Linked DNA regions of Homo sapiens: regions 1, 2, 3, 4 and 6 are each linked to region 5. The links are contacts of gene promoters, found by promoter capture Hi-C in blood cells and fetal thymus (Javierre and others, 2016). All regions are on one chromosome and are shown on one strand. The core of a region is centred on a gene start or on the middle of the fragment in contact, and the rest is flanking DNA. Distances in the headings are between cores, read along the strand shown. Region 1 has its middle 21 kb from the start of CPOX. Region 2 overlaps ST3GAL6 (ST3 beta-galactoside alpha-2,3-sialyltransferase 6). Region 3 overlaps ST3GAL6 (ST3 beta-galactoside alpha-2,3-sialyltransferase 6). Region 4 holds the start of OR5K4 (olfactory receptor family 5 subfamily K member 4). Region 5 holds the start of CRYBG3 (crystallin beta-gamma domain containing 3). Region 6 has its middle 22 kb from the start of GPR15.

What was found. Contacts are between HindIII fragments. The CHiCAGO score rates a contact against its expected background, and 5 or more counts as called.
Region 1: a contact is called between a fragment that was not itself captured here and the fragment with the promoter of CRYBG3 in region 5, in 4 of 17 cell types (activated CD4 T cells, total CD4 T cells, naive CD8 T cells and 1 more). The highest score is 7.0, in activated CD4 T cells.
Region 2: a contact is called between a fragment that was not itself captured here and the fragment with the promoter of CRYBG3 in region 5, in 1 of 17 cell types (monocytes). The highest score is 5.4, in monocytes.
Region 3: a contact is called between a fragment that was not itself captured here and the fragment with the promoter of CRYBG3 in region 5, in 1 of 17 cell types (M1 macrophages). The highest score is 5.4, in M1 macrophages.
Region 4: a contact is called between the fragment with the promoter of OR5K4 here and the fragment with the promoter of CRYBG3 in region 5, in 1 of 17 cell types (activated CD4 T cells). The highest score is 6.4, in activated CD4 T cells.
Region 6: a fragment that was not itself captured here is called in contact with the fragment with the promoter of CRYBG3 in region 5 in 1 of 17 cell types (activated CD4 T cells); the score reaches 5.9 in activated CD4 T cells.

The regions. Positions count from the first base shown.
Region 1 is chr3:98,570,233-98,574,967 of GRCh38, reverse strand. It overlaps a transcript of CPOX not described here. Among named protein-coding and RNA genes, the nearest start is that of CPOX, 21 kb to the left of the region's middle. The HindIII fragment of the contact is 1,470 bases long and covers 735-2,204 here.
Region 2 is chr3:98,763,567-98,768,205 of GRCh38, reverse strand. All of the region lies in intron 1 of ST3GAL6 (ST3 beta-galactoside alpha-2,3-sialyltransferase 6), which reads right to left. Among named protein-coding and RNA genes, the nearest start is that of ST3GAL6, 2.5 kb to the right of the region's middle. The HindIII fragment of the contact is 487 bases long and covers 2,280-2,766 here.
Region 3 is chr3:98,785,838-98,790,922 of GRCh38, reverse strand. ST3GAL6 (ST3 beta-galactoside alpha-2,3-sialyltransferase 6) reads right to left here. Exons shown (of 10, transcript NM_001323368.2): 7 at 2,701-2,887; 8 at 2,460-2,597. Among named protein-coding and RNA genes, the nearest start is that of ST3GAL6, 25 kb to the right of the region's middle. The HindIII fragment of the contact is 266 bases long and covers 1,540-1,805 here.
Region 4 is chr3:98,351,164-98,355,746 of GRCh38, reverse strand. It overlaps OR5K4 (olfactory receptor family 5 subfamily K member 4), which reads right to left and starts at 1,893. Exons shown (of 1, transcript NM_001005517.1): 1 at 928-1,893. The coding sequence starts at 1,893. The coding sequence ends at 928. The HindIII fragment of the contact is 1,273 bases long and covers 870-2,142 here.
Region 5 is chr3:97,819,993-97,824,441 of GRCh38, reverse strand. It overlaps CRYBG3 (crystallin beta-gamma domain containing 3), which reads right to left and starts at 2,431. Exons shown (of 22, transcript NM_153605.4): 1 at 2,087-2,431. The coding sequence starts at 2,235. LOC101929298 (a long non-coding RNA gene) reads left to right here and starts at 2,666. Exons shown (of 3, transcript XR_427389.3): 1 at 2,666-2,755. RefSeq lists a silencer at 2,285-2,654. The HindIII fragment of the contact is 1,453 bases long and covers 1,601-3,053 here.
Region 6 is chr3:98,551,747-98,556,113 of GRCh38, reverse strand. No RefSeq gene overlaps it. Among named protein-coding and RNA genes, the nearest start is that of GPR15, 22 kb to the right of the region's middle. RefSeq lists enhancers at 1-80, 1-331, 3,959-4,008. The HindIII fragment of the contact is 1,316 bases long and covers 2,016-3,331 here.

The sequences.
Region 1 (4,735 bases), core at 220-2,719, 750 kb before region 5:
CAATTTCTTGTAGTTCAAACTGTAGTTTATTAAAAATAACTAGTTCAGATGTCCTCAAAGACCATTTAAATTAATACTACCTGAATACAGGCTGGGCACGGTGGTTCATGCCTCTAATCCCAGCACTTTGGGAGGCCGAGGTGGGTGGATCACCTGAGGTCAGCAGTTCAAGACCAGCCTGGCCAACATGGTGAAACCCCATCTCTACTAAAAATACAAAAATTAGCCAGGCGTGGTGATGGGCGCCTGTAATCCCAGCTCAGGAGGCTGAGGCAGGAGAATCGCTTGAACCTGGGAGGCAGGGGGTGCAGTGAGCCAAGATCGTGCCACTGCACTCCAGCCTGCGCGACGGCGCGAAACTCTGTCTCAAAAAAAACCAAAAACCAAAAAACTACCTTAATACAAATTCTGCTGAAAGTACTTTTTGTTTTTTAATGTGTACTTGATCTTATGTGCTATTCAACGTGAGTGTGGTGCTTAAAAATAATGTATTCCTAAGAAGCAAAAATAAGGACCTACTTTCATCTTTACCTCTCTGCCACCCACCCCGACTCTTCATCTTAGTAATGTGTGGGAGATATGGTATCTCCCCAAACAGCAAGAGGCAGTCTTCAGCTGACGTGCCCTCGTGTGTGGAACAAAGACAAGCCATCGTTGCTGTGCCCTATCAGAATCCCTGACTCACAGAATCTGTGAATGTGATAAAATGGTTGCTGTTTATATGTCATTAAGCTTGGAGTGGTTTGCTAAACAGTAATAGATAATTGAAGCAGATTAAATGTCATTAACAAAAACGAGAAGAGCAGTTTTGAGGTGCTTGAAATGCTTGCAAGCTACCTGTACCAGTATTTAGAGATGTGAACTCAGGAGAGCTCAGTCTAGAAACACAAGTCTACCAATTTTGTAAAAGTGATAATTGAAGAAGTGGAAGAAGGTAAGCCACCCAAGGAAGTGCATGCAGTGTAATAAAAGAGCATCACAGACCGAACTGGGGGCAGAGAAATGAACACGGGATGAGGTATCAGGAAAGACAGCTAGAAGCAGCTATCTGAACAAATAGAATAGGAGGAAGGAAATTTAAAGAGACAAGTGGGATGTGATTGTAATAAAGGCTCAAATATTACAATGGTTGTTTCCAAATAGAAGATGTTAACATGATCTATACTCTATGTTAATATGTTTAATAAATTGGGATTTAAGTTAACACTTAAAAATGATCCTAGTTTATACATTATCAAGGTCTTCTCAGATACTAAAATTTAGATGATAAAATTATCTCCATTAACATACCAGGTTGTGTCTTCAGTTTCTCAAGAATATGAAATTCTTGAAAGAACCAGTAGGTGGAGCAGAAAATCTAATCTGCAGGGGGTTTTTTGTTTGTTTTTTTTTGGCAGGGAGTGGAGGAGGAGAAAGTAAAGAAAAGCAAGGAAGGAGGGAGAATGAAAAAGTGCTGGGAGGAAGAAGGAGAAACGAGAGAGAAGAGGTGGAGAACAGGACAGAAAAAGAGGAGAGGCAAAGAAGGAGGGAAATGAGAAAATTATTTGAAATCTGACTCTTGTTGAACTATGCTGTTGTTGGACAGATTATCTAAAGGAGTTATTACATATTTAATCAAGCATGGCTAATTTGACTATGCTGTTTATGTCTTGTCAAATGTCTCCACTGTGTTTCATGTCTCACTTTATGATTGGGAGATTCTGAAGTTGGCAATGTCTACAATTCCAGTAATGTTGAATGTCTAAATGCTTAGCATCTGAGTTCCTTGGCCATCTCTGAACTGCGAGTTGCCTGAGAAAATGTGAACATTTTTGTCTGAGAATGAATAATGTTAATTTGACTCTCAGAGGAAACATAATTCTAAAAAGATTGAGGACTATTCATCTAAATGTGTGTATTCAATTTAGAGTTTATACCCCAGGGGGTGTGTGTGATTCAGTGAAGACAGGTAGGAAAACATTTTTATCATTTCAAAAGCTCTGTTTGTGTGTAATTTTATTATGTCTACAATACATTAATTTAATTATGTGGGTATTTCACAAATACACACATTTTGGGTGTAAAAAAATCAGCAGCTTGTAATTGAAAAATTGCTTATTCAAATAGTGTATACGTTTTTACAATTTGATGGACTAAAAATGAAAGTGGAGAAGAAAGCAGAATGTCTTGATAAACCAAAGAAAGAATATAATGACCATAAAGCTTGGCTTCTTACCTCTGGCCGGAGTTACAGGGCAGGAAGTGAAAGGATGCTAATTTCCCATTGGTTTTAGAGAAAACTAATGGACACTGTCTAAAGAAATGGAGAATGAAGATGTTAAATACAGTATAGTAAAGGTAATCAGTAGACTAGAAATATAAACCAAACTTAAGTGAGAGACTTTAAACTACAAATTTAGAAAATAACAAGAACCATATGATAAAGCTATAGCAAACATACCCATCCTATCAATCAATAAAAAATGGCATACATATCAATAAATAAAAGTTTCATAACATACTGTTAAAATATTTCAAGTGGGACCATAAAGAAATAGATGCTATAAAAAACAGATACCTTTAAGACAAAATACTTCAGAAAGTAAAAAATGATAGCTATACCAGGCAAGTACAAACTTAAAAAAATGAAGGAGTTATGATACTCATATCAGCCATTATGGAATTCACATCTAAAAGCATAACATAAGAAAAAGAAGAGTACTTAAAATGTGAATGTAAAACGCTATAAATATCAATGGACCAAAGTACATAACTATATTCACAAGGAGAAAAAAATCCAGGAGCTAGACTGATGCACACTTGTAGTTGTTGAATTATTTCACTCAGTCCCTGACAGAGCAAGTCAGGGGAAGCACATTAAAGATGTAGAAGATGTAAATTACATGAGTAACAAAGTGTCTCTAACTTATATATATTTTGAACTCTGAACCCTGAAAATAGAGACAACCCTTCCAAGTACCTAGGGACATTCATAAAAATTGACAAAATTCTTTTCTAAATTACAAACTCCATAAGAAATTTTAAAAAACAGAAACTATACTGACAATATTCTCTATAATACAACAAGACAAAAATGAACAAGCAAATAAAAAACTAAAAACTCCAACATCTTGTAAATTACAACAGCTTTTTTTCTTAGCCCAGTCTTGGATCAAAGAGGAAATATAAACCAAAATTACTCATATCTAGGAAATACTGATAATATAAACAATACCTACTACACCCTATGAGACATAACTAATACAGCGTTTTCTTTTTTTTCTTTTTTCTTTTTTTTTTTGAGACGGAGTCTCGCTCTGTCGCCCAGGCTGGAGTGCAGTGGCGGGATCTCGGCTCACTGCAAGCTCCGCCTCCCGGGTTCACGCCATTCTCCTGCCTCAGCCTCCCAAGTAGCTGGGACTACAGGCGCCCGCCACTACGCCCGGCTAATTTTTTGTATTTTTAGTAGAGACGGGGTTTCACCGTTTTAGCCGGGATGGTCTCGATCTCCTGACCTCGTGATCCGCCCGCCTCGGCCTCCCAAAGTGCTGGGATTACAGGCGTGAGCCACCGCGCCCGGCCACAGCGTTTTCTTAAAGCCTTAAATATTTATATTGATAAAGAAGGAAAAATGAAAATAAACTATTTCTCAATCAAGAAATTTTACAAGACAACCAAGCAAACTGAAGAAAAGGAAAAAGAGAAATTAGCAGGCAGAAACAAGATAAGGATCTTCAGTATCACTACTATTATTCAATATTGTATTAGAGATGCTAAGCTAATAAGTTTAGACAAGAGAAAGAATTAGAAATACAAAGATTAGAAAAGAAGAGGTAAAATTGTAATGATAAAATCTAGAAGCAACCCAAGTTTAATAAATGGAAGAATAGATAAATAAATTCTGGTATATTAATAAAATGAAATGCCCTAGACTCATGTTATGTGTATATAAATTATAGAACTGGGAAAATTAATATGGATGAATATCACAGACATTGAGTGAAGATAAAATAACCTGCAGAACAATACATGCAATGTGGTTCCATTTGTACAAAATTCAAAAGATGCAAAGCTAGGCCATAGGCTATTTAAAGATACACATAAGTGATAAAACTAATGAAAAGCTAATGACAAATACCAAATTCAGGTGAATGGAGAATGGAACTGAGGCAGGATTCACAGATGGCTTCAAAGTTCTTAGTAGTGTTCTACAGCTGGATTCTGATATACAAGTGGCCATTTCAACATTTCAATATATTAATAGGATATTTCTTAGTATCCTCATATTTTATAAATATTAATGTGTATATCAAGTATTTAATTAAAATCTTTTAAGCTATGATCAGAAAAACTCTTACTCTGATACTAACATTCACTTCTGTGGGTTTTCTTGTTGGCATCCTGATACATGTTTCTTTAAAAATCAAGTATTTTTCCCACGTATTTAAATTAGTGTGTATGCTTTGTGGAAATCTTGGAAAATAAACAATGGTATTAAGGATATAATTACATTTGATTCCACCACTCAGAAGTCACCATAAATACTCAAAATTTTGGTATATTTCTTTCTAGGTATTTTATGCATATTTTAATGTAGTTAAATCATATTGCATATATAATTTTGAATACTCACTGTTTTCTTTTTTATGCCTTAAGCATCTCCCCCTGTTATTTAAACCTTTCAAAGGCAGATAATCGACCGGGGCTGAAAATAAGGGGTTTCTTGAAAGTGAGCAAGTGAGCTACTGACTGAGGG
Region 2 (4,639 bases), core at 1,274-3,773, 940 kb before region 5:
CAATAAACAGTTCCACGGTCTCAAAGGTAGGGGCCTCCCCCTACTACTTTCTCATGGTAGGTAAGAAAGAAATAATTCCTTCAGAATAAAATTTTACACATCTATTCCATATCCAAAACTTTTTTCACAAACATTAAAACCTATCTATTTTCTCTCTCAGTAGAAAGTGAATAGATGCCTTAAACTGTGAATATTTCATTTCTTCAGTGCTTGAAATGATGTTAAAATGTTATACATTATAATTTTTACAAGTCATTTTCTAATTTTTAACTGAGGAAAAAAGCTACTGAAAAAACATTTCCCTCATCCTCAATTTTTATATACTTTTAGATCCACCTATTTGATTTTTCCACATCACAGTTCAGGTATATTCAGCTACTTGCTTGTTTTGTATTAAATTGACAATATTATTCATTACACATTTGCAGACAGACAAAAACCTTGACACAATCCTCTCTAAAATGTAAATGCAAAAAAAGCCTTTATAGAATATATTTTAAAAACCTATAAAACATGTTTGGTTTTCTCTTTTGCTTCAAAGGAAAAAAGGAAAAGTTTCCATTGTCTTATGTAATTAAATGTAAAAGACAAATTTAACATATGGTTCCATAATAGACCTATTTCAACGCCTGTGACTTTAAACAGGTACACTGCTTCTCTGTCTCCCTTATCAAGTTTCTAGTTCGTCTAAACAACTGCATGTGCCACTCCTTTCACTCCTATCCATGCCTATTAACCTCAATCATGGCGATGCAGTATAGAACCTGGGAGTCTGGTTGAATAAATTTCCAAATAATATGGCATTGCCTTCTTTTTAATGGTAAATATGTTCAAATGGAAATCTTAAAATAAACCACTCCCTTTGCCTTCATAAGTAGAATATACTAAACATAATTTAAACTTTTCTTGATAATATGGGGTCAGCTCAACAAATATAATTGTTCTGGGCTTTCTTACAGTTGAAACCCTCTGCAGCTAATGGGTGTGTGGGGCTATTTGCTAAGCAGTCCTAAACTGGCATGATTATCTGGTTGAGTTGCTTTTCACTCCTCCCTTGCTGTCAGCTGTTGGTTCTTGCTGCTATTAATGCAGTCACCACCCCCACATGCCACTATTCTAAATTAGTTAGAAATGAAAACTATGTCAGGAGAAAGCAAATAAATAAGCAAGTTAATGAGCAAACTTTAGTTCACACATACTTCTAATTAGGTATACATAATCCCTGTGAAGAGTCAACACTGGTTGGAAATCAGAAGACAAGATTCACAGCCTAACTCTACATATGGTGTGGGGACCCTAAGGTAAATCAGTCTACCTCTTCTGACCTGAGGGTCCTCATGTGTTTACAAGTGAGAACACACCATCTACCTCTTTGGGTTATTAGATGGTCCTGGAAGGCAGTTTACCATGGGCCAAAATAGTGAGGAACATCTTATTAAATGCTCAAATCAAACATTTAAGGCTCCACTAAGAATAACTTCATTTGGCTGGGCGCAGTGGCTCATGCCTGTAATCCCAGCACTTTGGGAGGCTGAGGCAGGTGGATCACGAGGTCAGGAGTTCAATACCAACCTGGCCAAGATGGTGAAACACCGTCTCTACTAAAAATGCAAAAAAATTAGCCGGGCGTGATGGCAGGCACCTGCAATCCCACCCATTCAGGAGGCTAAGGCAGAGAATTGCTTGAACCCAAGAGGCAGAGGTTGCAGTGAGCCGAGATCACGCCACTGCACTCCAGCCTGGGCGACAGAGTGAGACTCCCTTTCCCAAAAAAAAAAAAAAAAAAAAAAAAAAAAAAAAGAATGACATTTATGCAAAGATCCAACAAGGATAAAACTTACCAGTATCAGCAAAATTTTTTAATGTATTTACATCTAAGACAGTATATGAAGGTCTAGGGAAAGAAGTCAGTATTTACAAGTCAAAATTCCTATGTATTCTCCAAAACATACTCTTTGGGCAATTTATGTATTATTCTACAGAACACGGAGGTATGGGTAAGCGAGACTTGTGTTATTGTTTTGTTGTTTTTCATTCACTAATATGTGGTCTAATTAAAAACAAAGAAGTGTGAGAGAATGCTCTGTTTTCAAACAATAAAACGAACCCACTCTTGAACAGCTACTGCACACGCCACCTGAAAAACATTTAGGAAGTTAAGGCACTATCGTATTTCATGTACAATTCACAGCTTCAGTATTCAAGTTGCAAAGGACACGGGCCAGCCAGGATATCCTTGTGATAAACATGGTTCCTCTGCTTGCTCACAGGAAAAAGCTTCCACAAATAAACCAATTATCTAATTATATTGTATAAGTGGAAGGGCATTTTGCTTTGAGCAAAAACATTCAAAGAAAAAAACAGAATTTAAGAGGTTATCTGCTTTTAAAAAGACATAAGGCCCTTTAATATAGCTTTGATTACCAAAAAAAAGAGTTTTCAAGATCTTGACATTAAACAGGACCAATGCCAGCTTTGTGGCTGCAGATGCTCCTAAAATCAGGGTCCCTAAAACATCCTTTACAAAAATGTGGGTAGAGGATGGCAAGGGAAAGAAGGACTCACTGGCAGAGGACAAATGTTCACATATTCTCCAACTAAGATATGTAACCCAATGTATAAGTAACCTATATATGCCAAATTAAACTCAATCTTGACAAATGTTTCACTTTGCTTTAATAGTAAAAGCATATTTTGTGTGGAGCATCAAAGTTCATAAAAAATCTTTTATATGTCCATCCCTCCATTTAAGGCTCAAAATAAGCTTGTTAGATGGGTGTGCAGGTGTTGTCTTCTTGATGAATGAGGAAAACTGAAGGTTTATAAGGTTGAGTTGTCTGAGGTCACACAGTTTAAGGAAGACAGAAATAGATTTATGGTTCAATCATTTCTTTCTCAGAGTTCCATTCCTGGTGTTATCCTGTCTCTCAAGATAAAAAGCACAAGGCAAATCTAAAAGAGATAATTCTAATCTGAAAATTCCTAATGGTGTTCCATTGGTATCTTGAAGTCTAGAAGGGTAAATTCAGATATTGGTGAAAGGAGGTGACTCTAGGGCAGGCTCAAGAGTCTGCACCAGGCGGGGACTTGTTAACATGCACACTCCTGAGCCTCTACTTAATCTGAATCTCTGGGGCTCAGGAATGTGCATTTAAACAGCATCCACCAATTTGATTCTTATGCACACTAAAATTTTGAGAATCACTGCTCTAAGAAATACAATAGAACCATGGAAGAATTTCTGAAATACAGAGACTGTAACAGATACAGATCCCATAACTAGATGCTTTGTATTATTTTTTTTTACCCTAAATGCCTAGCACGTGGTAAATGCTCAATGAATAACAACTGATTAGAAGCATTAAGATGTATGAGTGCTTAGCCTGTGCCAAGGCATGTGATAATTGCTTTTGGTGTATTACCTCATGACATCCTGACAACCACCTTGCAAAAGAAGTGGTAGACTTACAATTCCTATTTTGTAGAGGAGGAAACCAAAACTCTGGGAGAAGCAACGACTTTGTTGAGCTGACAAGTAGCAGAACGAGGACTCAAATCTGTCTCTATCAGGCCACAGGCCATGCGTTATACTACCTCCCCCTAGATGTGAGCTTTCACAAGTGAGCACAGGCCCCTCCTTTTGCTACCAGACTAAACATTACTGAACATTTCTCCAACTTAAGCAATCCTGCAAGCTCCTTAAGCAATATCAATTCTAGTAATTGATGAAATGGAGGTAAAGCTTATAATACTTTTGATTCAAACTCAGCTGAAATAAAAGCCTGTTACTCCCAACCCTGTTCCCAGTTCTGCTCCTCCCAACCATGCTAGCATTGTTTATAAAAACAAACTCTACGGAGAAACACTTGAAAAAAATGTCAGGTTTTTTTTTAGACTCCCCTAATGCTTTCTCAAACCAAAGGGAGCTTGCTTTTCCAACCAGCTAGAAAAAAGCATGTTCAGCAATAATTCTAGAAACATTGTTCTACTTATCAAGCATTAGGTTAGTGCAAAAGTAATTGTGGTTTTTGTCATTTAAAACCAACCTAATAGAAAAACCCGGTGGGTATCTCAGTCAATATGCAACACCAAGGAAGAAAGACCCTTGGCGTTCTCTATTCCGGATGCTGAGCACACACAAACCTCACCTCCCTGTCTCCTCCATCCCCAGTTCTGTTTCAGTCTGGAAGCAGGTGCTTCCTAATGCCCATCTGCAAGCCCAGCCACCCCAGGCACTGGGACTGATTCTGACCCACAGAAAGAGAGTCTGAGGAGCCCTCGACTAGCAGCTTAACAGTTGGGTCAGGTTCCTGTGGATCCAGTAGTGATCCTGGTCATCTCATCCACTGGACCTGGGTTCCTGCTGCTGGGTGCTTAAACTATACCACACTTTTCCAACGTCTGCATTCTTCTCTTTCCTAGTCACCCTAGCAGCTCTGCAGCCAAACTTCCATTTTTTTTTTTTTTTTTTTAGTCACTAGGATCCTAAACCATGTCCCCATCTGCCCTGGGGTGAGGCACCCTTCTGTTCCCTGCTTCCTCAGTGGCAGACATACTACTCTTTCTACTACTAGGTCTCTTCTCAAACCCAACATGCTGCTGTTCAATAATACTCCTCAGTAACTCACATCTTTGTGCA
Region 3 (5,085 bases), core at 423-2,922, 970 kb before region 5:
ATAAAATTTTCTTTATCCTATGTACCATTGTAACCTAGGAGTCATTCAGCCTCATTGATCCCATTGCTTTTTCCTTCTCCTTGCCCCTTTTCATGTCTTCTACTTCCTTTCTTCACATCTTAAGAGTCCTTCATCCGTCTTTATAACCATTCCTTTATATAGACCAGCTCTTCTGCAGCCATCACCCACAGAACCTATATTACCACCTGACAAACTCTTATAAGAGGAATAAGCACTGCAGTCACCCTGTACCCACACCCCAGCAACAGAATAGGGCAAGAGAAAAATACGTTTACCTGGTTGAATGTTGAATTTATGACCCAACTCTCAAACAGGCAGTAAGTATTGCCTAGCAATCCAGTTACGTTTGACTAGTAAATTTCCATTCCTACTCTCCAAGATGAGAATTTATAACTTTGTATCCTGCAACAGCCCTAGTCTTCTTCCTAATTTGACTAGTTAATCTTTATTTTTTTAAGGAAACAAAAGCAGTCAAAAGAGTGGCTTCATCATCCCAACTCCAAATCTACCATCTTACCTGTATCTTTACTCACATTTGCAGTGCTTATTCCTCTTATAATGGATGAGATGTAACTTCAGCAACTTTTCACTAGTGTATATTTTATCCCATATCACTTCTCAACAATTTTACTTCTGTACTTAACTACTTTCTCCCCTCATCATCAGTGTTTCTTTCTGCTGAACCATTCCCTTCAGCATATACACAGACCAAAAATAAAACACGCTTCTTCGATCCTATATCATCTTCCAACTATTGCTTCATTTCTACGATCCTTGTTCTAGCAAAAAGTCCACTAAAGATTTGTTGCTGCTTGCTCATGTCCCAGGTTCTCTTCAACCCAATTCAAGCAGGCTTTTTCCTTCTTTCTTGTTAATATATATCACCAATATGACCTCCACGTTTCTAAAACCAGGGTTTATTATTTACATTCAACCTCTGGACAGCATCTGACATGGCTGACTTCTCTTGAAATACAGCATTTGATTTCTGGGACACCATGTCCTACTGGGACTTTGATGTAGCTACAGCTAGTTCTAATGTCATCACTAAGTATGCTCAGGGTCTTCCTGTGCTTTTGGAATTAAAGATATTACCTAAAATGAAGAAGCAAGAGATATACCTGATCATACTTCACTTAGGAATATAGGAAGTGAAAACTCACAAAACACACATTCAGAAGCTGTCCTTTACCCTCAAAATTACTAGGAAGTCAGGTTTAAATTTAAAACATGTATGCTTTTTGACTTGAGCATTCCACTTCCAGAAGTCCATCCTACAGAAATCCGACAAATGGGCAGAAAACCCCTATAAACACATGTACTGCTATATTATTTAAAGAGAAGAAAATGTTGGATATATCTGAGTGTCTATAAATAGGGGAAGAGTTAAATAAAGAGAAAAAAGAAAATAACAACAATACCTATGGTATAATCATAATTATACTGAACAAACAAAAAGATTATGTGTTTATGAATGCATAGCAAATAGTCTGGAAGCACATAAAAGGTAGAAAAGCTTGAGAGGTTACATGGGTTGTAGAGGGAAGAGAATAGACTGGTGACTTCCTTTTTGATTTTTAATATTCCTTTATTTCAGTGTGCAACACTAACATTTGTTTTCAGCATATAACACTTTTGAATTTCTTAATCACAATTCTTATCATGCTAAATATACATCATGAAAATACATGATGTATATTTATTTCTTTGGATTTTTCCCTACTTTAAAAAGGGGTGAAAAACTCATTTCAACCAAGGTGTCATGTTATACAGTTACTCAAGCTTCCAGTAAAAAATATCTCTGCCACTGTATGGGTCTAGAGTATTGTTTTCTAGGGAAAGAAGGCAAACAGGAGTGAAAGTCAATGAGATTTCATTTTGAAGTTTCAAGAACTCTTTCAATATTGCTGTAGCTACCATTTCTTGAGAATTTAATGCCAACATTTCCTCTGACCACAGAAATGTTTCTGGACTACTTTATTGTCCTTCCTCACCTTTCCTCTGGCTTTCCTGTGATATTTTTATCAGAGCATCTCAGACACTTCTTTTTAGCCTGCAAAGCCATGCACTTGGCCTGAAGCCAGGCCAGCTACTCTGAGCACAAGCCTGCCCGTCAGCCCACCCAGTCAGACTCTCCTCACTGCAGAACACTGAAGACAGAGTTATGAAAGATAAATTGTTTCGGCATGCACAAAGAGACCCCAGGAAGGCCCTACAAGGGCAGGAAAAAAACCCAACTTAAAATTACATTTCCTTGCAACATAAATGAAAAACATAAAGATAATATCCATAGATAACTACTTTTACTAACTCAGAGATGGCCCTCAGAAATCATCTCATGAGCTGTGGTTCTCATACAGTTTCTGAGAGTTCCCAGGACCCTCTATCCTACCTCAGCCAGATCTGTAGTTTGAAACCATGCAGAGATAAATACATACCTGATTTTTGGGAAACACTTTTGGAAAATGAAGCAGTTCATAAGCTGCTGTTCTGATAATGAAAGGATCTAATATTCGGATTTGATAAGGTTTATAAATCAGGTTTAAGGCTGGTTTCTTCCAAAAACCATTAGTGTTCTGAAAGTAAAAAATATAGAGAATAGAACAGTGTGGCTGTCTGTTTTTTAAGGAAAAAAAGCACTAAAGGTAATCTGAAGGCAGAACAATTTTGCCTACTTACTATTTTGTCACCCATCAACAATTCCAACAGCCACCTTAAATCATGTGGCTTAAAAGCAGTGAGAATCACTGTCGTATTAGGGTCATTGTGAATAGGATCTGAAAAAACAGATTCTGGATAAAAAAGTCGGAAGGTTGTCCTTCTCCCAACTTCTTCTTCATGTCCTAAAACAGGACCATTATTCATTCTGTGGATAGTAAAACATACAAGATATGTAGACCAAGTGCAGTATCTGCCATTCCCATCACAGTTCTCAGAGGTTTCAGAGTTGGACAAACATCAGCCTTTTATCCTGTGCTCTGAAGCCACAAAGCAATAGATCAATCTTTCACACATAATGGCCAAGGAGATCATTCCTTTTCATGAAATAGTTGGTTGATCAAAGGCAGAAATGTTCATTTGTATTTGAAAATTAATTGTGGAGCCAATGATAATTCAGTCTTACCTCCAGGGGAACTGAAGACTAAATTTAAAAAAGTGGGAACACAGAGCCACAGGATACCAGAGTTGAAAGAGAACTTGGAGGACAAACCCCTGGAGAGAAAATTACTTGCTCAAAGCCACACAGTCATGTAGCACATGGATGTGTGTGACTGACAGGTAAGAAGAATCACATTTAAGTTGGTTTAAAGACCCATCAAAATTGTTGTACTCTGAAATAAGGTTAACAATATAAATCTGCTATATTATATTCAAGCACAACCAAATGAATGTCTATTGCTAGAGTAAACTAAAGAACCACAAAGGATCTACTGTTGGGTTTGTGTATGCTGAAAGCCAAGGTTGGACATGCACTATTTATGCACACATTATGAAGCCATGCTATAAAAAAAGAAATGCTTTGTTTCCAAAACAGTGTCCCCAAAGAGATAAATACTGTTTTGCCCTTTGCTACTGACTCTACGTAATATAAGACGAACAGACTTATTAACACTTGAGATGACTTTCAAAATGTTGTACCCATGATATTTTCCTGCAAGGGTTTCCTGTGGCTCTAAATTATCAGATTTAGACAATTATGGGTAGAGAAACCTGTGATTGCTTCAAAATTGTTTTGTAGGTAAATTATCACAGCTTCCTCAAAATGGATAGTAAACAGAAAATAAGGTGACCTCACCATGCAGAAACCCTAGGCAGCTTGTAACCCCACAAAACCCCCAAAGCTGCCAAACCATCCTAATGTATTGCCTCAGTATGCTAACTTTGCCATTCTTTAAACTATTCATAGCTACTCCTAACACACACACACACACACACACACACACACTTATCCCAGATGATGACCTTATCTTGACCTTTCACTAAAAAAATAGAGATAGAAAGGTCCGTATTTTCCCCTCACTACATCAGAGGGACTCTTGGTAGTTGTAACCACAATCCTGGCTCTCCTTTCCATTATGAAACATTAACCACACTTGTGTTCTGAACCCCCTTCCCCTCTCTTTTACCACCCCAATCTCTTTCTCATTTCCACCAGTTAACCAATGTACTATAGTGCCTCCAATCTTTTCAAAAGAAGAAAACAAACAAAAAAAAAACCCTGATTGCATAACCATCTCTAACTGCCATCTGATTTCTCAACTCCTCTTTGAAGCAAAATCCCTGGACTACATTGGTTTCTCTACATCTTCATCTGTACATTCAGGTGTACATTCTCTGCATTCCCTCTTCGACCTAGTCCAGCCGGGCTTCTTGCCACATCACGCCTCTAAGCCTGCTTTTATTGGGAGTGTCAATGAGCCTCAGGTCACCAGTCCAATGGTCACCACTCTGTCCTTATCTTGCATGACCTCTCACCAGCACTGGGATACAGTTGGTCACTCCTTCTGTCCTGGAACACTTTGCTCTCTTGGCTTCTGTGATCACCTTCTCCCGATTTTCTTCTTACCTCACTGGTGGATCCTCTTCATCTCTTTTACACATTCCTTTTTCTTTGCTCAACCTCTAAATTTTGAGTTCTCTGAGGCTCAGTCCTCACTCTCTTCTCTCTCTCTCAGTCTCTCCTTGGGAAATCTCACCCAGTCCATGGTTTAAATACAGCTTATAGGCCACACACCATCAAGATTTTAACCTGTTTATCCAACTGCCTACTCGACAAACCCACTGCAAATCTAACAAGCATCTCAAATCTAACATGTTCATATCATGGTTTTCCTCTAAACCTGCTCCTATACCAGTCTTCCCCAACTTAATAAATGATACCACTCTCCAGCCAATCTCCTAAGCTGAAAACAGAGTAGGAGGCATCCTTGATTTCTTTATTCTCATTACTCTTCACATCTAATACGGCAACAAATCCCGATAACTCTATGTCTAAAACACATCTTCAGTCAGTCCACATATCTCTTCCTCTCCTACAACAATCCTGTCCCAAGCCACCATCAT
Region 4 (4,583 bases), core at 644-3,143, 530 kb before region 5:
AATGATATAAATAAGAAATAAAACAGACAAAACAAAAATGACAATTCATAAAAGTAAAAATGGTCAATAAACACATAAAATATTGGTACAGCTTACCATTACTCAAAAATAAAACAATGTCATTATTAATATGTTTTAAAATGTTTAATGAGTGTTAATATGTAAACTGTAGTTATATATAATACATAGCCAATAACATGGTTGATGCCTTCAAGAATGAAAAGGAACTTAATTATGCTTCTGGCTAAAGTAGACCTTAATCTACTCTGTCCAATTTGTTATAAGTCACAATTAATTATTCTGCAAAATAGAATATTTTGTAGGTGAGCCTCTTTGCATGTGTGTATGTGTGTGTCTGTGTCTGTATATGTCTGTGTATGTGTGTGTGTGTTCCTTTTCATTTTTTTTCATTCTTGCAATCTTATCTAAATAAAACTTCATTACCTTAAATATAAATTACTGCAATTAGTTTGCTTCTAGTCTTTTCCACTCTAAAGTAATCCACATGTGTCTCTCAGGTCAGTTTTCTGAAAGAAAACTATCATTTCACTTTTCTGCCAGGAAATTTTAAATGTTTCAAACACGCTACATAGGATTGGATATAATGTCTTCCATTAACTAGGAAACATTAATCAAAGAAGACTCTTCTACACATTTAAACATTTAACTTTCATGCTATGTTGATTAATTGAGGTTTAGGATAATACTCTCTGACAATTCCATGAGAGTCATGAAAGGTAGTAATAACAGTTACCAGTGAGTTTCCCCGATTCATTCTGGTTGTGGGATTTGGATAAAGATTTGTGAAACAATTTTGAAATTCCATTGATATATTTTTTAAACAAACATAGCCTAATGATTTATAAGCTTACATTTTGTGTAAAATCACATATTAATTTTTCTATGTTCCCTCTTTATGAAAGCATTTTAATAAATTAAAAATAAATTTGCTATAGAGCAAGTTTGTTTAAGAATGTTATAATTCCTCATAATTTTTTTAAGAACATTTATGACCTCCTTATTTCTCAGACTATAAATAAAAGGGTTTAGTAATGGGATTACTATTGCATAAAATATTGCCACTGGTGTATCTTTATCTCCTTCTTCAGATGGTCCAATATACATGAGAAGACAAATGTAAAATATTGAGACAGAGAGAAAGTGGGATGCACAGGTAGAAAATGCTTTACCTCTTCCCTCCTTGGATTTCATTTTGAAAACAGTCAAAAGGATGCAGAGATAAGAGATCAAGACAGTAGCAATGGTAAAGATTTGAATTGGTATTGAAAAGATATATATCATTAGTTCATTAATAGAAGGATCTGTACAGGAGAGTCTATACAGTGGAAGAATATCACAGAAAAAGTGGTGAATTTTATTAGACCTGCAGAAAGTTAACCTTAATAAAAGCCCTACATGAATCATGGAATGCAGGTTTCCAGCTTTGAAGGCCCCTGTGGTCATCCGAATGCAGAGCGTCTTGGACATCATGGTGTGGTACTGCAGTGGGTGGCATATGGCCACATAGCGGTCATAGGCCATTGTCGCCAGAAGAAAGCAGTCTGTGGTTTCAGCAAGACAGAGAAAATAAAATTGTGCCATACATTCATACAGGGAAATAATTCTATCCTCAGAAAAGAAATTCTCTAACATCTTGGGGGTAACAGCACAGGAACAGCAGGAATCCATCAGAGCCAGGTTGCCCAGAAAGATGTACATTGGTGTGAGAAGACGACGCTCTACATAAATTAATGCCACCAGACCAAGATTCCCCACCATGGTGACCAGATAGATGGCAGAGAACACCACAAACAGAAGCGTCTTCAGCTCTGGATAATTTGTAAATCCTATGAGGATGAATTCAGCTGCTAAGGAGTGATTTTCCCTAGCCATTCCTGGCTTCTCTTCTGAGACATAAATTGTAAAGAAATGTAAGATTCCAAAGCAGAATGTTTCTAATTCTCACCCTCTAATTTCCCTGTATACAAAAGGGAAGAAAGTCTTCTTCAAATTATCCTGTGCCATCTCCTAAACACTAGCACACTCACTGTGGGTCAAATCAAGTGAGAAAAAATGTATCATGGATTGTGTACCCAGGGCTTGTCTGAAAATATCTGTGTGAATTCCTAGGGCAGGAAAGCTTTATCTGCATGAATTATCCTATGCCGATGTAAAATCTGTGGTCAGTACATATAATTTTCCATTTCCAAAATTAAGACATTTTCTTATGGTATCTTTTCCTCCAGGAAAAAGTAAACAAGTTTTAAATCGTATCCTATTGGATCAATGTGACGCTTAAAATGAATTACTCTTAAGGCATTTTAAATGTCTACATTTTAAAAACTGCACAGAAACACAGTGATTTGAAGAATGCTTTTGCTAGCTTAGTAACCCTTTCCAGATAAGGTCACCAATTGCATATTTTATGAGATATCTACTCATCCTTTTAGAGAGGATAAGAATATGAAACATCTATGAGTGTTCTTAATCATTGTATTGGATATCATTTTTATGTTCATTTCAACATATTCTAGATACTATTCCAATCTTGGTATGACAAATTTCCCAAGGAGTTATTACTCTTAATTGCTCACTTATCCTAATACTTTCTGTCTCTAGTTTTAAGAGTTTTACATGCATGTCCAACATTGTAAGATTTGGTGGCAAAATCTCCACTCATAATGTGAATATTCTTCATGGTAAATATCTATTTTGTATTCACTCAAACATCTCTCATAGAAAGTAATGTCTTCATTTTCAGTGAGTTCTATGGAGGTTCTCCATTTATTTACTTGAGTTTTAAATTTATTTAAATTTACAAACTCATTATCTACTCTTTACTGGCTATATATTTATTTGAGTTTAATGATCAACTAAATTTATTATATAGTTCTTATAGTTTGGCAACTGTACATTAAAATATTTCAGGTACAGAAACAATTTGAGTTTTAAAGAATAATAAAATTAACTTTCTTTTCTTTTAGAAGTTTCTAAAAGTCTTTAGCCTTAGCATACTCCAAACAGACAATTTTGGAGAAGAGCCTACGATAGTTAATTCAAAGCACATTTTTTTTTTTTTTGAGACAGAGTTTCAAGCACTTCTCCTGCCTCAGCCTCCCGAGTAGCTGGGATTACAGGCATGAGCCACCATGCCTGGCTAATTTTGTATTTTTAGTAGAGACGGGGTTTCACCATGTTGGTCAGGCTGGTCTCGAACTCCTGACCTCAGGCGATCCGCCCGCCTCGGCCTCCCAAAATGCTGGGATTACAGGCATGAGTCACCTCGCCCGGCCAGTGAATTACTTTGAAAACATTTTGGTTAGGTTTTCTCTGTTTCTTACTTTTGTTTTTCTATTGACTCACATAATATGATGAGGTTTTCTGGAGTTTTATCACTAGAGGCTTGTAATCAAATGAATACAATAAAATGTCCTTTATATTTTAGGTCTATACCTCTTTTAAAAAATCTTTCAGAATTATATTTTTAAAAAAACTTTGTAAAAGTATAAAATGCTGCTCTTTATCATTATTTTAGTAACATCTAATGGAAAATCAACTGAAAATATTTATCAGGTGGACTGTGGAAAAATGGATTTTATTATCAATAATTATTTTATATAGATCATATTTCAGAATATAATGAGTAAAATCTCATTTTCTCTTCACCAATGTAAAATATAATTTTTGAACTTAATCAAAAATTAATTTGCCTATAGATCGCAGAATTACTGTACAAGGACATCATCAGCCTTATCTGTGTATTTGCTGATAAAATTATGGTACTTTTGAACAAAGAATAGGTCAGACTTATCCACTTACTATGTCTCCTTATGGCTTTCTATAATGGCTTCACTTTAGAGACAAAGAGAATTATTAAGTGGCTAAAATTTAAAAACAATAAAAATACTGAAGTATATTAGAAAATTTATATTCTGCATTTTGATACTATAATATAAATAAATTAGTAAATAAAATTAAGTCCTCATATTTTGAGTTCACTGAGAAACATTTTATAGTAGCTGACTGGTCTCCTGATGTTTTTTCTTTGTAGGGAAATTAAGAATAAAAACATTGGTTTTTAAATCATTAGGGAATAAATTATAAAAATCTAGGACACTCCCTACCAATAGGTTAGTGACAATAGTTATGCAAGTCTCAGGCAAAGTTAAAGTTTTCTATTCTAAAGGGACTTCCTCGGCATTGGCATCAGAGTGTTTCTGCAGAGACTCTAATCTGATGAGCATGGTTCCCCCAGCACCAGTAAATCAAACAGCATATAAAGATGGATGCATTTTGAGATTCGGAAGTTAAATCAAAATTGCTATCACTAAAAACAGCTTAAGGTTCATCTTGATTTTTCACATACTTGGAAACTCTCTCTTTCTCTTACACACAGACACACACACACACACACACACACACACACACACACACCCCTTGATTACCTGAAAACTATGATGGAGAGAAAAAGATTTACATTGATCAGTTGAGGTGGAAGTTAAACAGAGATTTGAAGAGAGATTTGTATTTGTGGACAAGAGGCAAAAATGTGGCAGGATCACCCAGGGTTGTATTCCTTTCTT
Region 5 (4,449 bases), core at 1,182-3,681:
ACTTTTACGGGTCTCATAATTATGTTTTAGTTTATTTTTTAATTTTGTACTCCTCTTCATCTAAAATCATCACTACAGAAGGTATACCCAGCTCTCATAATGATAAAAGTTTTTATGCCCACAAAGAGAAATAGCCAAAATACTCTTTCATTTTGAAATAAGATCACAGTGACAAATTGCAATTCTGTTTCCAATCTTGTTAACATCAGGGTGTTGTGTTACTGGGACATTCAGTACTATAAAGCGGTTCCATTTGTTTTATTAAACTTTCAATAAAGGCTTTGTGTTTGTTTATGCCCTTGAAATGAAAGATTTAAGCTCATTTAAAACAGTAAAACACCCACATAAAGGGTCATCTGCTATCCCCCTAACATCTGGCAAGTTCCAAAAAAGATGAGAACAAAATTAGCGTTGATATAAGCACAATTAAAATCTTCATCGTTGAAAAGCCATAATTTGTGCCAATCTGGAGATGATGAGAATAGAGAAGTGGTAGGTGAACAAGGAACTAGTTGCTGGAGGGGTCAGCTCCAGTCAGTAAAGAAATTAGAATTGAGAAGTGCCTTAAAAAGCCAAAATAGGGCAGAGAGGCAAGCAGGATTTCAGGCCATTACTGACATGAGCCTGAATTTGACCTGCTTACTCCTTTCTAACACTGACTCTCAAGTTCCCAACTTTTGCTGCGCCTACTTGGGATTTCCTTGCAGACTGCGTTCATATTATCCAAGACTGTTAGTGCTGTTACGGCGGTGGCAGGCACCACAGGCTGTCTGCCCACACCAACAGAACTAGCTGACACCCTGGATGAGATCTGTCAGACTTAAAAACTATTTTTAACTTCTGTGTAACTTTGAATTTTAAACTCTCAACAGTCAGAGCAATAATAGCTGAAACGTCCCAGGAGAATAACCACTCAATTATCGTAGGAGCTTTCTTGGAAACATGTGGCATGTTATTAACAGACGGTCATAATGAAAATGTTTCACAAGCGGGGAAACCGAGGAACACACAAACGACTAAAATCACATCACAAAATCTGAATACTAATGGAATTGGCTCACTCTCAGTTCTGTTTCCTATCCATTTTTTTTAAGCCCACCAGGAAATCTTGAGTCCGAAGTAAACACGGTTTTCTGGAGTGTGTCCTTCCAATGACAATGGTCATTCTAGTGCAATCTCGGGAGAAGACAGTGTAAGCCTCTCATAAGTTTAAGAAAGCGAGCTGCGTTTTACTTAACCCCTCTTTCTTCGGGGGGATGAAAAGACTCAGAAACAGGCATTTAAATGAGGCATGTCTAAAATTTTTTGATTTTTGAACATGGGAAAGTGAAGGAAAGATAAAAATATTACAGAGAAAGGGTACATTTTGATTACTGAAACCAAGACAGCTGGAAACCTGATTTCCAGAATCTGTTTGGGAACTTGAGGCAGATGTTTCTAGGAGAGATGAGAAATAAAGAAGGGTGGCGTCATTTACATGTCCAGTCCATTTTGGTGAAAGTCTTGGGAACGCATTATCACAATTCCTTTTAAAAATCATTTTGAGAAAATTTAAATAAGATGGCAAAAATACCAGCTGAGGGGGTGACGCCCCAAAGCTTTACCTTTTCCACTTTTGCCCCGATCTCCTCCCACACAAGTGGTGCTGGGATCGCGCCCCCAATTCCCCTGGCCGACGGCTCCGCTCGGCTCACAAGTGTTTCCCATTACTGCAGGCGGGACGCCGGGGAAATCGCTTTTGCCACAGAACTTGGAGAGTAGAGCGTGTGTGGAACGGGAACCCAATCACGTCCGGGCAGGGGAAAGTGGGAAAGGAAGAGCGCGGAGCCAGGCGGGGATCGGGGGATATGCGTCCGGCTGCCGGGCAAGAACTTCACCCCGATTTAACCTGCAGAGGAGAGGCGAGTAGTGCGGCACGGGAACGGGGCAAGGAGGAGGAAACTTTAGCAATGGAGGAAGGAGAACAGAAAGTGGCGAGCGAACTGCAGCCTGGCCCAAGAGCGGCCCGCTGCCGGCGGTCAGGCCGGGAGCCTTCATCCCGCGAATATGTGCAGGGCCCCCCCGCGACCCCCTCCTCGACTCCCACCTGGCAGCGGACCGGCCTGGAGCTGGAGGCGGGCTCGTCCCCGGCCTCTCCTCCTCTTCCTCTTCCTTGTCCCGGGAAGGACTTCGGGGAGCGAAGAACCGGGAGAAGCTGTGCCAGGGGGCGCTGCCCCTTCTGCGGCCGCTGGACATTTCCCGAGGGGGCCGCTGGCCCGGGGCTGTCTGAAGGGAACGGCCTAGGTGTTGCCTGGTGCCCGGAGCCCGACCGGGCGCCGCGGGATGCGGCTAGGGCAGACCGACTCGACGCGAGCTGCCAGCGCGGCTCAGTCTCTCTCGGGCAGGAGAAGTGCGGACGCGACGCGCTCCTCGCGCGGCAGCTCCTCACGCCGCTGCGGCTGCTCCTCCTCCCGCCCTCGCCCGGCGCGGCCCGCCCCACCCCGAGGAGGAGCCAGTGGCCGCGGCACCGCCCTGAGCCGGGCGCAGCCGCCACCGCTGGGGCGCTACGTGGTCCCCCGAAGGCGCCGGCCTGAGAGCCTGAGGGGAGTCGCCCAGCGTGCGACGCTAGGCTCGGGCTTACGGCTCAAACAAGTTCAGGCTGCAGCCTGTTGGGCTTTGCCTTCAATTACTTTCTGTGACCGTTGTGTTTTCTATTCTACAGTCAGAGCACAGAAACGGTTTTCTTCGGGCTTTTGAAAGAGGTTTATGAACTAAGGTTTGTGAAAACACTTGGCAAACTGCAGTACCGGGGCGCCCCGGACTTGCTGGGAGCTAAGAAACAGCTACCGCAAATACAGCTCCAACCCTGAGGGCGAAAGTCGCGTTAGCACAGAACCGGGCGGCGGGAGGGAGAAGGGGGTACCTGTCAGGCGGTCACCACCTCCCGGCGCGTTCTGCTGGCTTTCTGTGGTGTGACTTTTCCTAACCGCGCTGTGCTTCAGACTTTTCACACGCCATACTTCCCTGCGAACTCTTTCAAAAACGGCACTGATCAAAAAGTATGATTTCAAGCTTGTCAATGCTGCAACATATTTTGCAGTCGTTACACAGATGCCACTGAAATCTGGGAACCAAAGGGTGCTTAAGACTTGTTTTAAGTCTAAGTACAGTGGTATGGATTTTTCTTGGTTTTTCATACCCTATAGCAGCTAGTACAGGAGATACTGAGAGGCCCATTCACCCCAAGTGTTTTGTTTTTGTTTGAAGGCAAGCTGCCCCTGGAGTAGACGTCAAGGAAGTGATATGGCTTTTGTTCATTAAAAAATGTATACAAGTAAATGAGATAAAAATGAAATGTCCACAGCAGAGGGGAGCCTTGGAGTAATCTCCCCTCTGGCTTTCGGGTGCTGGAGGAGAAGGTTGCTCATAAGTAGATTGCATACCTATAAGCCCCAAGTCCTTTCAGCACCTGCTGGAGGCTATTGAGCCTCCCTGCCTCCCCACGCTGCCTCCCAGAAGCCCTCCAGCTCCTACTAACTGCAATAGAGCCAAGACACTCATTCTCATTTGTTCTGGCAGGATTTAACCCATTAAAGTTCAGTCAGCCCGATTTCCATCAATCGGGTTCATCTCAGTCTATCCCTCAAGATTAATCCTTTTTTACTCTTTGGTAAATTTTTCCTATTTCTCTGTGAGCCTAGTCTGAGAAAATAGAAAAAGACTAAGATAATAGACTAGAATAAGACAAGTTCCCAATTCTAGCTTTATTATTTTATAAGAGAATCTCCACTGAAGACCCACTTACCAAAAAGCCCAAAGAGAGTAATAAAGCAAACTGTTTCTTCCAGCTAAAAGGCCCAAATGATAATTTGTCTTCCCAACGTATTATTGAATGACTATCACATTTGTCCCTGACTTGTTCTGTGATCAAACCAGGCCCCAGTGCCTACCCAGAGGGTACTTCGTTCAGGAAGTTTTTCTTGGAATAAAAATGGGGGGGAGTCAATAGGATTTAATTAATGAATTATGGTTTTAACTAATAATATATCTAACAATACTCTGATCTCCACTCGGTAGCACAGCAAAGCACTTAAGTGAATGGTAAATACAAATAATGCCATGTTTACACTAAGACAAATTGCGTCTATGACAAAATAGCTTAAAGTCATAAAACAATGACCATTGAATTTTCCTTCATTTGCTTTCTGAGCACTTATTAGTTTTCTATATGTCCTACATTGTTATAACCTGAACTCATATGAACAAATTTCTAAATACTAAATTCTAAGATTGCATTAGGAAGCCTGTAAAAATGTCAAATTTTAGAGCTGTAAGGATCTTAGAGATACTAATTTAGCACAGTGTCATTAATTCACTGATCCAGTTATTCCCCGACGTTTAGTGAGTGCCTGCAGTAGAAGCACATCTACAGTGAAGCCGATGAGGCTCAAGTTTCTTGGCTCCCTGCTG
Region 6 (4,367 bases), core at 1,424-3,923, 730 kb before region 5:
GGTAAGATTCTGCAAAATTTTATGAAAAGACAATGTAGTTTTGCATAGTAGATGAGGGCAGAAATGTTTACTTTCCTAATTACCAGTTACCTCCTGGTCAACAAGTACAATCTGAGATCTTTTTGCTTACGTAGCGCTGTCAATTTCCTTTTTTCACCTGAGATAATCTTTTGTTTCGATAACTGTTTTCATAACCCATGCCGTGTTTTTTCCTCTGTTGTTTTTCTTTTTCTTTTTCTTTCTTTTTTTTTTTTTCAGACGGAGTTTCGCTTTTGTTGCCCAGGCTGGAGTGCAATGGCGCCATCTCGGCTCACCGCAACCTCCGCCTCCTGGGTTCAAGCGATTCCCCTGCCTCAGCCTCCCGAGTAGCTGGGGTTACAGGCATGTGCCGCCATGCCCTGCTAATTTTGTATTTTTAGTAGAGACGGGGTTTCTCCATGTTTGTCAGGCTGATCTCAAACTCTCGACCTTAGGTGATCCGCCCGCTTCAGCCTCCCAAAGTGCTGGGATTACAGGCGTGAGTCACCACGCCTGGCCCCGTTTTTCTATTTTTTAAACTACAGTAATTCTCTTTGATTTAAATATTTGTAAAGATATGTACAATAAAACTATTCTTAAATCATAGGGGAAAACAAAATATGGAGCAATAGAGCAATTCTAAATGAAATGCAAGCCTAAACTACTTTTTTAACAAGCTTTGTAAATAATCACTTGTTTGCAAAGGAGGTGGTGATTCATGTGAGAGGAGTAGAAAGAAAGATTTTGGTCCCTTTGAAATTTTATTATTGTTCTTCTAAGTACATCGTCTAGAAAGAAAGCAAACCAATAGCGTTTTGGAATTGTTTAGTCACTAATTGTATTCCATGAGCATTCTTTCTGGTTCACTGGAATTCAGTGTATAAGTCTGGGGACAAAGTGAAGCTCTGAAGTTATGAGCTTTGGACAGCAGGATGGCGAATTAAGGTGGTGGAAAAGGAAACTTTGATGTTGGAGAAACTGGTGTAGCTCAGAACGTAGAACAGAAAAAGCCAACTATTTGGCCAAAGTATCCATCTTTTAAAGAGATACAGTTTTAATCAAGTGAACAGGTAGGACTTCAGTCTGGGTGTTTATTTTTGTCTATTTATACAAATTCTTTATCACTCAGATCAAAGAGTTTGCATTAGGTAGTATTATGTTTCTATATTTTCTTAAATCAATATACACAATGAATTGTTATTAGATCATAAGAAATGCCAAACTGGATCAGATTTACAATTCATCCACCCAAATCCTACCTGTTTTAGACCAATCCAGGGATATTATGTATGGCGACCTGGTGGTTACTCTCCAGACAATTTTTAAAGTCTAGGATGAGCCTATATACAATGCCTAAAACAGTATCTGGCAAGTGTTTGGCTTGGTAATGGTTGATGTTTGTTGAACAAATGAGTGAAAGATAAAAATCTACCATCATGCAATTATCTACATTCTCCTGAAGCTAATCTTTTGTGTTATGTATCGTGTATGACAAGTCTTTTGTTCTAAGTGTATTACATTGTCTTTTTTCCCTTTTTTCTTTCCTTTCGTTAAAGTGTATTTACATTGTCTTAAAAATTACTTATCTTAAGCATCAAGAGAGTTCTTTTCCAACTTTAGTGTTACAGAATTTGATTTGATTAGTCTTAAAGCATTAGACAAGGAGGGAATGATGTACCCCCTCATTTGATGTGCTCCCCACCCCAGTTGAACCCCAGTCTTACTTGGAAGTGGAAGGATTCTGGCTCAGGTTGTAAACAGTAAACCATAAGAAGACAAACTGTTTTGCAGAGTATTTTTAGTAAGTAGCCTGGCCTACCTAAAGGATAAATGTTAATTAGTTATGATTTCTACTTAACATATGGAATGTTACAAGATTAACAGGAGCAGATAAGAAAGAGAAGCATAATTGATTAGTAATGCTGGTAAAAGGTTAATTACAGGGAATGATCTATTTCTATGAGGTAATGATTTATTACATAGATCCTAACAAAGCTTTTATAGTATATATTAATAGCACTTTGAAAGGCCTGAAGGGACTAAAAGAGGAAGGACACAGAAGCTACTTCCTTTGGCCAACAGAGAATTTGTTGACAGAGAAACTCACTACCATATTTTACAATTTCCAGGAACTGGAAGCAGTTGATTAGCCACATCTGTTGTGAGTATGGGTGTGAAGTGAGGAAGTACTTTGCCATATATTCGCTAGTCCAGTACTTTGCCATATACATATATTTCCTAAACCTTGCAGGAATTTGGCTTATTCTTTTGGGTAAAAATGCAATTAAGAGAAAAGATCTAACTGAAGTTTTTAAATGAAGAAATATACTGGACAGCGCAGGACACACGAGAAGGTCCTCAGATGAAACAACTCTATGCTAAGGCTATGAAAGTTTGACTCCAGTGGCCTTCTGAAACAATGCTGGGAATTTAAGATAGGGCTCTAGAGCTTACTTCCTTCCAGTTTAAATCTAGGAATTTGGTCCATGAGTTAATTTTATTCACACTGAGTGTATCCAAAGAAAAATAAGTTTTTCCTGTATTTCATTAGAAAGAATAACAAGTAGCAAACTTTCAGAACGTTTTTTTCCCCAGTACCTTAATCTCAGGTAGAGGAGCATATTTAAGGAGTCATTTTAGATTAAGATTGTACTCACACCTAACCCACATCAGAAAGTCAGTGTTGTTTTGCATGTGCATTGCCGGAAGAATTTTCTGCCTCTGGCTTCTCCTCAGTGAGGATACACTTTCAACGAACTGTAAGCATTAAGAGAATTGCTTTGGAAAGTACTTCAACTAGCAAGAACTGGGATGACTTCAAAATGTCTTTTACTGGCTTCACGGGTACTTATTTTGGCACTTTCCCTGTGGGGCCGCTTCAAGTTGGAAGCCTTCTCTAGAGAAATGTGGAGAGGGCAGCACACTGTCTTCTTTCAGGGGCTTAGAACAGCTCTTTCTTCTTCTTTTTGGACATAGATAAAAGTTTTGTTGTTACAAACCCCAGGCTACCGCACTATGCCTTGTGATCCCCTTTGGAAAGCACCCTTTGATTAATTTTGGCAAGCTGTCTGTTTCCTCCTGGGATCCTGATACATCACCTAATACCACGAAAGAATATGAGGCACTTTTAGTGTAATCTAAGAGTTTTGTACAATTAGAGAGAGAGAGAGCGAGAGAGAGAGAGATTCCATTTCCATTAATGGATTACCTGACTTGAGATAGGCTTTGGACTCAAACTTGGTGAAACTCACCCAATAGTTTCATAGACAGTTATTTTGGATAAACAGAAATTGTCCCTTCTCTTCTTAAAGCTTGAAACTTACATTTGTTTTATCTGTGTTTCTTTCTGAGGATAGGACCCCTAGCCCTCTCAAAAAGTATGAAAGAACTGAAACTCACCAGATCATAGCATCCAGACACTGAGACTCAGGGCCCCTCATTCATCATGATTGCACCCTTATCCCTCCCAGGTTCCTGTTTTTCCGTACATAGTTACACTTCTTTCCTGCTATATAAAGTCCTAATTTTAGTCAGTCAGGGAGATGAATATGAGACTGACCTCCCATCTCCTAGGCTATAGCACTTGATTAAAATCTTCTTCCTTGGCAATAACCATTATCTCAGTGATTGACTTTCTGTGCTGTGAGCAGCAGGACCTAGACCAAACCCTTGGTGTTTCAGTAACACTGGCAGAGCATGGACTATGGAAAGTGGCCCAGGTACAGTGAGAGACGCCAAGGTCTCTGCTTGCCCAGTGAGATCCACTGCCTGGGAATGGCTTGGTCTGTTGTAGTTACAAATCTTACTTCTCTATTTCCAAGTAGGATCATTTAATTCTGCCACATTTTCCTTAGGAAGCTACCACGAAAACTTTCTACCTTCGTCAGTGTCACTCTCCTTTCAGTGAAGGTTCTTTTAATTCTTAGAATTAACCTAAGGTATAAGACTGTTGCAGCATCCATGTCCTACTCCCTGAAGAATTTAGAATCAAAGTCATCTGTTTTTCAGGTTGGAGGGGTCATTTGAAACTACGTAGTTCAACTTCCTCCTTTCACACCTAAGAAACTGAGGTCTTTGTAGCCGGATGAGGAAGCCTCTCACCTAAACTTCATAGTTAGAGGTTATTATAGGTCCCAGATCCCATGAAAGCCATACTCCTGTTTTACCCAGTCTAATCTTTCTATTCAGGGACCTTGGACTTGACACGTGGCACTACTTAGATAAGAAGCCTGAGGAGCAAAGGCCTCTGTGGAGGAGTTTTGTAGAATGAGATGGGAGATTAGAAGAATACAATAAAGGGAAATGTTTTTAACTCCTGCAGGAATTTTTTCAAGGTATGGTTTGAGGAC